Regions from separate parts of the Homo sapiens genome. Here region 1 is linked to region 2. Evidence: promoter capture Hi-C in 16 types of primary human blood cells and fetal thymus (Javierre and others, 2016). All regions are on one chromosome and are shown on one strand. The core of a region is centred on a gene start or on the middle of the fragment in contact, and the rest is flanking DNA. Distances in the headings are between cores, read along the strand shown. Region 1 holds the start of RPS25 (ribosomal protein S25). Region 2 holds the start of ATP5MG (ATP synthase membrane subunit g).

Region 1 (4,235 bases), core at 541-3,040, 620 kb before region 2:
TCACCACATACACACTAAAAATCGCCATCGCTGCCTTGCCGCTCGGAAACTGGTATTCAGCCTCTACCCGACGGCCCCTCCCCGGAACCGCATCACAGCACTTGCCGCCGGCCCCACCCCAGCCTCCTCCTCCTCCTCCTCCTCCTCCCGCGCCCCCCGTGCAGCCACCTGCTGCACTTGCGCACTGGGAGCGACACGCTCGGGCATAAGTAGTGCCGGAAAGTTAGCTGCCGAGACCTGGTGGATTGCTTTTCGTTTATCAGTGCAGGAAAACAGCGCTATAGTATGCGTCACAACTAGCGCAGACTCCGGCAGTATTTAGGCGGTGCGGCTTGGGAACTAGAATCCACTTCCTGTCTTCCGCCTCAGGCTAGAGGGCGAGCGCTTCGCCGTGGGACTTCTTCTGCCTGGCTCCGCCTTTTGCCCCGGAAGTACTCACAGCGGACGGTGGTTTTTGGGCCCGTTTCTGAGCAGCGCTTCCTTTTTGTCCGACATCTTGACGAGGCTGCGGTGTCTGCTGCTATTCTCCGAGCTTCGCAATGGTAAGCTTCAGGGGTGTGAAGTCGCCGGCGTTCTTGGGTTTGAGGACTCAGTGGGGAGAGCCTTCGGCGGGAGCGCTCCTTGGCCTGCCGGCCTCGGTTGCAGGGCGGGCGCGGTTATTGCTTGGCCCATGTGCTCTGGTGGTGGAGTTTGCGGGGGCTGAGGGCGCAGTATTAGGGGACTTTGGCGCTATTTGAGGACCTGGTTGCATTCCCGCTGCCCTCCTACAGCCGCCTAAGGACGACAAGAAGAAGAAGGACGCTGGAAAGTCGGCCAAGAAAGACAAAGACCCAGTGAACAAATCCGGGGGCAAGGCCAAAAAGAAGGTAGAAATAAGACCTCTCTGAAAGAGACTAGGGGTAACTCTCTCGTAATCCTCTAGTAATAGGTAACTTGTATAGTAAGTGGTTTTTCAGGTGTAGATTTCTAGAGTCAAAATGTGAGAGTTTATCTTCCCGTCACCACTCGTTCTTTTTCCCATTAGGATCATGAAAATGGGTCTGTTGTGCGAAGTGTCTGCCGCTGTGCCTGCTGTGTTATTTTTAACTGATCTAGTGGGGCTCGGCCCCTGTTTGAAGGCCAAAAACGTGTCGGTGTTTTTTTTTTGTTTTTGTTTTAGTAATGTGTAATTTATCCTTGATAACGGTGGAACAGATTTCTCTGACGCAGATTACTCGAGAGGGAAAGGGTGCTTCTGCCAGAAATACTAACTTGTTTCTGTTTTGTTTTGGTGAGCAGAAGTGGTCCAAAGGCAAAGTTCGGGACAAGCTCAATAACTTAGTCTTGTTTGACAAAGCTACCTATGATAAACTCTGTAAGGAAGTTCCCAACTATAAACTTATAACCCCAGCTGTGGTCTCTGAGAGACTGAAGATTCGAGGCTCCCTGGCCAGGGCAGCCCTTCAGGAGCTCCTTAGTAAAGGTGAGGGGTGTATCCTACATGTGTGTTTTTGTAGGTTAAATTGTCTTGACCATGTTAAGCATCTTCAGTGGTTTTGCTGGAAAAGCAGAATTAAAAAAAAAAAGCGTGGCTTGACCATTGGCTGTTAGTAATGTAATTCTGACGTCTTACTCCTGATCCTGAGATGAATTCTCAGGGTTCTTAGCCACTTTTGTGCCGTGGACCCTGTGGCAGTTTAGTGAAGCCCAAGGATCTTTTATGTTTCGAGTAAATGGATGCATAGAATTACAGGGACAACCGTTTTTGAAATAATTAGATTACTATTTTGAAACAACTTTGAAAATGTTTAAAACCTTTATGGTAAATATTTTGTTGATGTATTAAATTTTAAAACCAGAAATTTAGTACGGTCTACTCAGTAGTATGGTCTGATTACCATAATTCCACAATAATAAGGCTCAGCTAACTATAGTGACTGAACGTCTATAATTCTAGCACTTTGGGAGGCCAAGGCGGGTGAATCAACGGAGGTCAGGAGTTAAAGACCAGCCTGGCCAATATGGTGAAAACCTGCTCTACTGAAAGTTAGCTGGACGTGGGGGCACACGTCTGTAATCCCAGCTACTCAGGATGCTGAGGCATGAGGATCCCTTGAACCCAGGAGATGGAGGTGGCAGTGAGCCGAGATGACACCACTGCACTCCAGCCTTAGTGACAGCAAAAGACTGTCTCAGAAAGGGGGGGGGGGTGGAAGATAATGGAGCCCTAATTTAAAGGAAAAGTAAGGATAGATGATCGTTAAAAACTAGGATTCTCGGTTACCGAACGTCAGATTAAGCAATTCTGGAGCCAGGTGCAGTGGTACCCTTGTATTTCTAGCTACTTGGGAGGCCAAAGCAGGAGGATCATTTGAGCCAAGGAGTTTTAAGACCATTCTGGGCACCTCTGAGAGAACTCTGTCTTTTTGTTTTCCTTTTCTTTAAATAGAGATGCGGTTTTGCCATGTTGCCCAGGCTGGTCTCCTGGGCTCAAGAGATCCACCTGTCCAAAGTGCTGGGATTACAGGCATGAGCCTCTGCACCCGGCCAAAACAAACCTTACTAGAGTCTCATTCTGTTGCCCAGGTTGGAGTGCGGAGGGGCAGTCTTGGCTCAATGCAACCACCAATTCCTGGGTTCAGGTGGTCCTCACCTCAGCTTCCCAAGTAGCTGGAATTACAAGCATGTGCCACCATGCCCAGCTAATTTTTGTATTTTTGGTAGAGATGGGGTTTCACCTTGTTGGCCAGGCTGGTGTGCAACTCCTTACCTCAAGCTATCTGCCCGTCTCCACCTCCCAAAGCAGTGGGATTATAAGCATGAGCCACCGCGCCCAGCCAAAAACCTTACTAGTTTCTATTGTAGCATCTGTTAAGCATCTCATCGTGCTATTCTCTCCCCCTAGGACTTATCAAACTGGTTTCAAAGCACAGAGCTCAAGTAATTTACACCAGAAATACCAAGGGTGGAGATGCTCCAGCTGCTGGTGAAGATGCATGAATAGGTGAGTAGGAATGTGTGGGCTCATGGTGTAGGAGGTAGATACAAAGCTTTATGGTTCTGATTCTTTTAATTTTTTTTTACAGGTCCAACCAGCTGTACATTTGGAAAAATAAAACTTTATTAAATCAAATGAATGAGTATGTCTGTTTCCTAAGAAAGACAATGATAAAGAATTTGGTGGAAGGTATAATAGGGGTTTGTTGACTTTGCTTTTAGCCTCATGGTAGTTGGTAGAGAGCATGATTAGCTTTTTTCTGTATGTGACTGCTTCTTCATTGCTGCAGCTTCAGTTTTGAATTGATGTCTGAAAGGAAATAAAGGGTTAACACGATGATGAAGGGTGACATCTCCAAAAAGGAGGTTGGATGGGTAGGTTGGAGACCCGGCACTGAACACACATACCTGGACTGCCAGCGGCGTCCATTATTCCAGACGCGGCCAAAAGAGGGCAGCCAGCCTGCACTGGTCCTGGAGCTGTGATCAAAGTTGGCCCCAACTCGGTCTGGGGGGAGTTTTTTCAACTTCTGTTTTTCCTCTGTACAATGATAGGGAAACTTTTATTTTTCTTTATTGAAGAATATAGAGATGGGGTCTCACTATGTTGTCCAGGCTGTTTTCAAACTTCTGGGCTCAAGTGACCCTCCCACCTCAGCCTCCCAAAATGCTAGGATTATAGCCATGAGCCACCACACACAGGCAAGGAAACCATTTTTGAGTGTGAAGATTTAGACGATCCTCTCTTGAATTAGTTTACTTACTTTCTTTAAGAAATTCTTCATAGGATGGTCCTATTTCTTGGTTCCCAGCAATGTATTCTTCATCTTGGATCATCCAGGGAGGTGTGGCACCTGAAAAAAAAATTAAGGCTTTTTTTTTTTTTTTTAAGTCTTCAGGCTATTGTGAAACATGTCCTAGCTGTTAGCTTACCTCTCCTCATTAAGAGCTAGAAATGTCTAAAAGCAAAGCCCAGGAATTCTGGAGCTTTAGAAGGCCCTAGGCTAATTTAAAGCGACATACCCCATATGTGACAGTCATTTTAAAATGGCTTTGAGGCACAACTGACATAAACGATACACACTTAAATTTGGTGACTTTTGAGCGAAGCCATTACAATCTAGACCCCAAACATCCCCCTGTAAGTATCACTGCCCCCATTAAAATATTTTCATGTCCAGGCAATCGGTGATCTTTCAGTTGCTTTATTGGTTTGTATTTTTTAGGATTTTCTGTGTGTGGACATTGAGGTGGGGTCT
Region 2 (4,244 bases), core at 1,513-4,012:
GGTACACTGGATTGGATCCCGGAACTGAAAGATTATTGGAAAAACTATTGAAATACAAATAAAGTCTACAGTTAAGGGAAAAAAAAATCAGATTCTATGATCTTCCTAGGCAAACCTGATGATAAATTTACTTATTTCCATAAGCTTTTTTGACCCCCAGGGGAATTAACAGATATAGTCAGTAATTTTTATTAAATATTTAACATTCACATTTAATACACTAGCCTATGTATGTTATAAAGCAAAATGTATTTCCACGTTAACATTCCAGCCCAGTTGAGTCCTCCTTTCTAAGTACTTTTGGAAGAATAACAAGTTATCTTTCAATTATTTACAACGGAGGGAAGGGTTCATATTATATATTTCATAACAAAAAAATTACCTTGGTGTTACTTTTCTTTTTAGATCACAAAAATTAGTTTGCAATTCCTTAATATGCGCCACCTAAAAAATGTGAAAGCCACACCAGAAAAAAAATCCACTTGAAATATTAAGAATTGTGCCTTAAATCACCCACAAAGTCCAGAGTGAAGCCTCTAATCCTTTTTTCTCTTTAGTTTTTTTTTTTTTTTTTTTTAGACGGAGTCTCGCTCTGTCGCCAGGCTGGAGTGCAGTGGCGCAATCTTGGCTCACTGCAACCTCCGCCTCCTGGGTTAAAGAGATTTTCCTGCCTCAGCTTCCCGAGTAGCTGGGATTATAGGCGCCTGCCACCATGCCCGGCTAATTTCTGTTTTAGTAGAGACGAGGTTTCACCATATTAGTGAGGCTGGTGTCTAACTCCTGACCTCAGGTAATCCACCTGCCTTGGCCTCCCAAAGTGCTGGGATTACAGGCGTGAGCCACAGTGTCCAGCATTATTATTTTTTTTTTTTGAGACCTAGCCTCGCTTCGTCGCCCAGGCTGGAATGCAGTGGTGCAATCCTGACTCACTGCAACCTCCGCCTCCGGGGTTCAAGCGATTCTCCTGCCTCAGCCTCCCAAGTAGCTGCGATTACAGACATGCACCACCAAGCCTGCCTAATTTTTGTATTTTTTGTAGAGATGGGGTTTCACTATGTTGGCCAGGCTGGTCTCGAACTCCTGCCCTCAAGTGATCTGCCCGCCTTGGCCTCCCAAAGTGCTGAGATTACAGGCGTAAGCTACCGCCGCAGGGCCATCTCTTTTGATTTATATAAAATTGTAGAGCTCTATGACAGGTATCTTAACAATCTTAGTAAAGTAAAAGATTTTCTTGCAAGCTTATGAAATTATTTGGGAAAATGTGTAAAATGTTTCACTAGTAGGCTGTGAGGTTCTGCAGGACAGCCTTCAATAACTCATAGTTTGGCTGGTGATGGAGGGAAGGGAGGAGAGAATGGATAAATTACCCGGCTGGCGCTGTGGCTCACACCTGTAACTCTGGCACTTTAGGAGACCGAGGCGGGAGGATCCCTTGAGCCCAGGAGTTAAGAGACTAGCCTGGGCAACATGGTGAAATCCCGTCTCTTAAAACATACAAAAATTAGCTGGGTGTGGTGGTGCGTGCCTGTGATCCCAGCTACTCAGGAGGCTGAGGTGGGAGGATCGCTTGAGCCTAGGAGGTGGAGGCTGCAGTGAGCTGTGATCTGCACTGCACTCCAGCCTGGGCGACAGAGTGAGTCCCTGTCTTCTAGGAAAAAAAAAAAAAAAAAAGAAAGAAAGAAAAAGAAAATACCCAAACCAAACTCAAACACAGCAAAATAGGCTAGAAAGTATTACATTTTTTTTGAAGTTCTGCTTTCTATTCACATTTCATAAACGTAGGCAAAAGTTAAGAGATCCGACCTTCAGTCACTTACTGGAATACAGCACATCTAGGAAAAACTTACGTCAATTTAGCTTATCTCACTTCAGGAATAAAATGAATAGCTTGCCACTGAGAAGACAACTGAAATATTTACTGGCCAAATAAACTAGTACTCAGAGGCTGTGATTATTCAGGGTTGTTGTGAAATACAGCGGTCTACCAGTGAGGCTCTTCAAGCTGAAAAAATTCCACGAATGCTAAGCTTCGTAACAAAGATTATTGTTTATACGGATCCCGTCCTATGCTTCTCGGGGCATGGATACTCATCCATGAAGTCCATTTCCACCTAAAATTTCCCTCGGATTAAAGCGGAAGTATCTTAGAATCCGTCTAGGACAGAAAGCAAAGTCAACGTTCAAAAAAGCTCACCCATCCTTAAACATTTCTGTTGACTTCCAAATACTCCACTGAGAACAACACCACATGTAATGAGGCCGAATTGATTTACTTTCACGTTTCTGCCCTTCCTTTTCTTAGCTCTCCTAACAGAACCATCCCCTCTAGATCCCTGCTCTTAGCGATCTCAGGGGGCGTAATGGTTGCAGCTGCCGGGCAACGCCGGGCTTCCTTCACACTACCTCTCTTCCCAGTCGTGGTTAGAATTCAGGAACTTCTAGGTTGTGTAGAGAACCCAATCTGCAGGTCAGACGAGTGGAAGGCTAGAAAAGAGTCGCCAACCTGCTTCCTGCTCCCTCCACCTGCAGGCCATCCCGCCCCGGCACCCGCAGGCCCCTCGGGTCTTCGCAGCCCGCTTCTTCCTCTCAGGCCATCGCAGGCCTCCCTGCCGCCCGTGTGCCCGCCTCGGCGGTCTCACATCGCGCTCACCGTTCACCAGCGCCGGGGTCTTCTCCACAAGGTTACGGACAAATTGGGCCATGGTTCTGGAATGGAGAGTCCGTCGCCCCGAACCGCCGGCTGAATGTCACCCGCCGGAAGGACCCGCTGCAGGACCCCGTCCCACTTCCAAGGTCAGGCCGCCTCTTTTCGCGCCGGTCGAAGATACTTAAATGTCCAAAGATCTTTGCAGAATCCAGCCTGTCAATTTAATTTTTCAACATGGAAGAGAAAGTGGATATGAAAAGATGGTATTAGAGAGCATGTGAAGAACAGTAGGATTCCGCAGAGAAGCAGGCATTTTGTGGGGCAGCCACTCGTAGAGGTCCGGAAAACCGGCAAGGAGCGGAAATGCGCATGCGCCCTGAACCTGCAGTGCTTTTCTTGGCGCCGACCTCCGCTATTTTGCGTAGGGTGCTTTCGCCGCGATTCTGAGAACCTTTGAAGTCAGTACTGGAGAAGGATTCGCTGAGATTCTTCTAGTCCAACACGATCGTTGTACAGAGGTAGAGAGGGTCCAAGGCCAAACATATAAAGTTAGGGGCCGAGCAATCACCACACAGGCTGTCACCAGGCTCAACCCATAGCCCTTTTTATTTGAGACAGTCTCGCTCTGTCGCCCAGGCTGAAGTGCAGTGGCACGACTTCGGCTCACTGCAACCTCTGTCCCCCGGGTTCCAGCGATTGTTGTGCCTCAGTCTCCCTAGTAGATGGGACTACAGGCGCCCGCCACCACGCCTGGCTAATTTTTGTACTTTTAGTAGAGACGGTGTTTCACCATGTTGGCCAGGCTGGTCTCGAACTCCTAGCTTCAAGTGATCCACCCGCCTTGGTGCTGGGATTACAGGCGTGAATCACCGCGCCTGGCCCCATAGCCCTTTTAAAGTTGATTTTTTGTAATCCCAATCTCCCCAAAGTGCTGTATCACGATTGGAATCCATTTCCCCTAATTCCCTAGTTAACCACAAGGAGCTGTGCAGATGTGAGGAAAAAATCACCTGTATTGAACGCCCACACTATGCCAGGCATTTTGGAATTTAAAGAAAGCCTGTAAGGCATTGTCCCCATTGAGACTGGGCTTGAAAAATGGCCACACAGTTTGGAAGTGGCAGAGTTGAGATCTGAAGTTGCAATGTATACTCAGAGAGGGGGCATTCCATCAGATTAGGCATGGTGCTGATTTCAGCATACTTCCTAGAAAAGATCCTTGAGCCGATGTGTAAGAGAACAGCTGTATACTACAGAGGGCTGAAACTTCATAGTTTAATATGAGGAGGAAAAGATGTATGTAGGGAAGTGGCATTTGATGAGAGGAACAGAACTATAAGTAATGTAACCTGGGGAAGTCTGAGCAGAAGTAAATCTCCGATTTTTGGAATGGTTAGAGAGATGGAAAGAAAAATTAGAAGTGTAATCAAGGAACTAAGAACTTTTCAATGAAGGAGTGATTCTGCTGCCCTAGATACTGCAGAAAAGTCAAATTAAGGATGGGAAAGTTAATTTAGCAATATGGCAATCTTTAACTAACTAGCGCCTTTTCAAAAAATTAGGATAGAATCCAGGGTGAATGGTGAAGAAATATGGC

The links. Contacts are between HindIII fragments. The CHiCAGO score rates a contact against its expected background, and 5 or more counts as called.
Region 1: a contact is called between a fragment that was not itself captured here and the fragment with the promoter of ATP5MG in region 2, in 1 of 17 cell types (total CD8 T cells). The highest score is 6.5, in total CD8 T cells.

What each region holds. Positions count from the first base shown.
Region 1 is chr11:119,014,589-119,018,823 of GRCh38, reverse strand. CENATAC (centrosomal AT-AC splicing factor) reads right to left here. Exons shown (of 11, transcript NM_198489.3): 9 at 3,741-3,830; 10 at 3,385-3,517; 11 at 3,031-3,286. The coding sequence ends at 3,226. It overlaps RPS25 (ribosomal protein S25), which reads left to right and starts at 481. Exons shown (of 5, transcript NM_001028.3): 1 at 481-542; 2 at 771-866; 3 at 1,279-1,462; 4 at 2,885-2,983; 5 at 3,066-3,107. The coding sequence starts at 540. The coding sequence ends at 2,979. TRAPPC4 (trafficking protein particle complex subunit 4) reads right to left here and starts at 58. Exons shown (of 5, transcript NM_016146.6): 1 at 1-58. The coding sequence starts at 28. RefSeq lists enhancers at 1-185, 440-669, 690-759 and a silencer at 80-199. The HindIII fragment of the contact is 2,482 bases long and covers 550-3,031 here.
Region 2 is chr11:118,400,124-118,404,367 of GRCh38, reverse strand. ATP5MG (ATP synthase membrane subunit g) reads right to left here and starts at 2,762. Exons shown (of 3, transcript NM_006476.5): 1 at 2,651-2,762. The coding sequence starts at 2,702. The region is part of intron 3 of LOC100131626 (a long non-coding RNA gene); the gene reads left to right. RefSeq lists enhancers at 989-1,579, 2,038-2,901, 3,022-3,101. The HindIII fragment of the contact is 3,431 bases long and covers 2,030-4,244 here.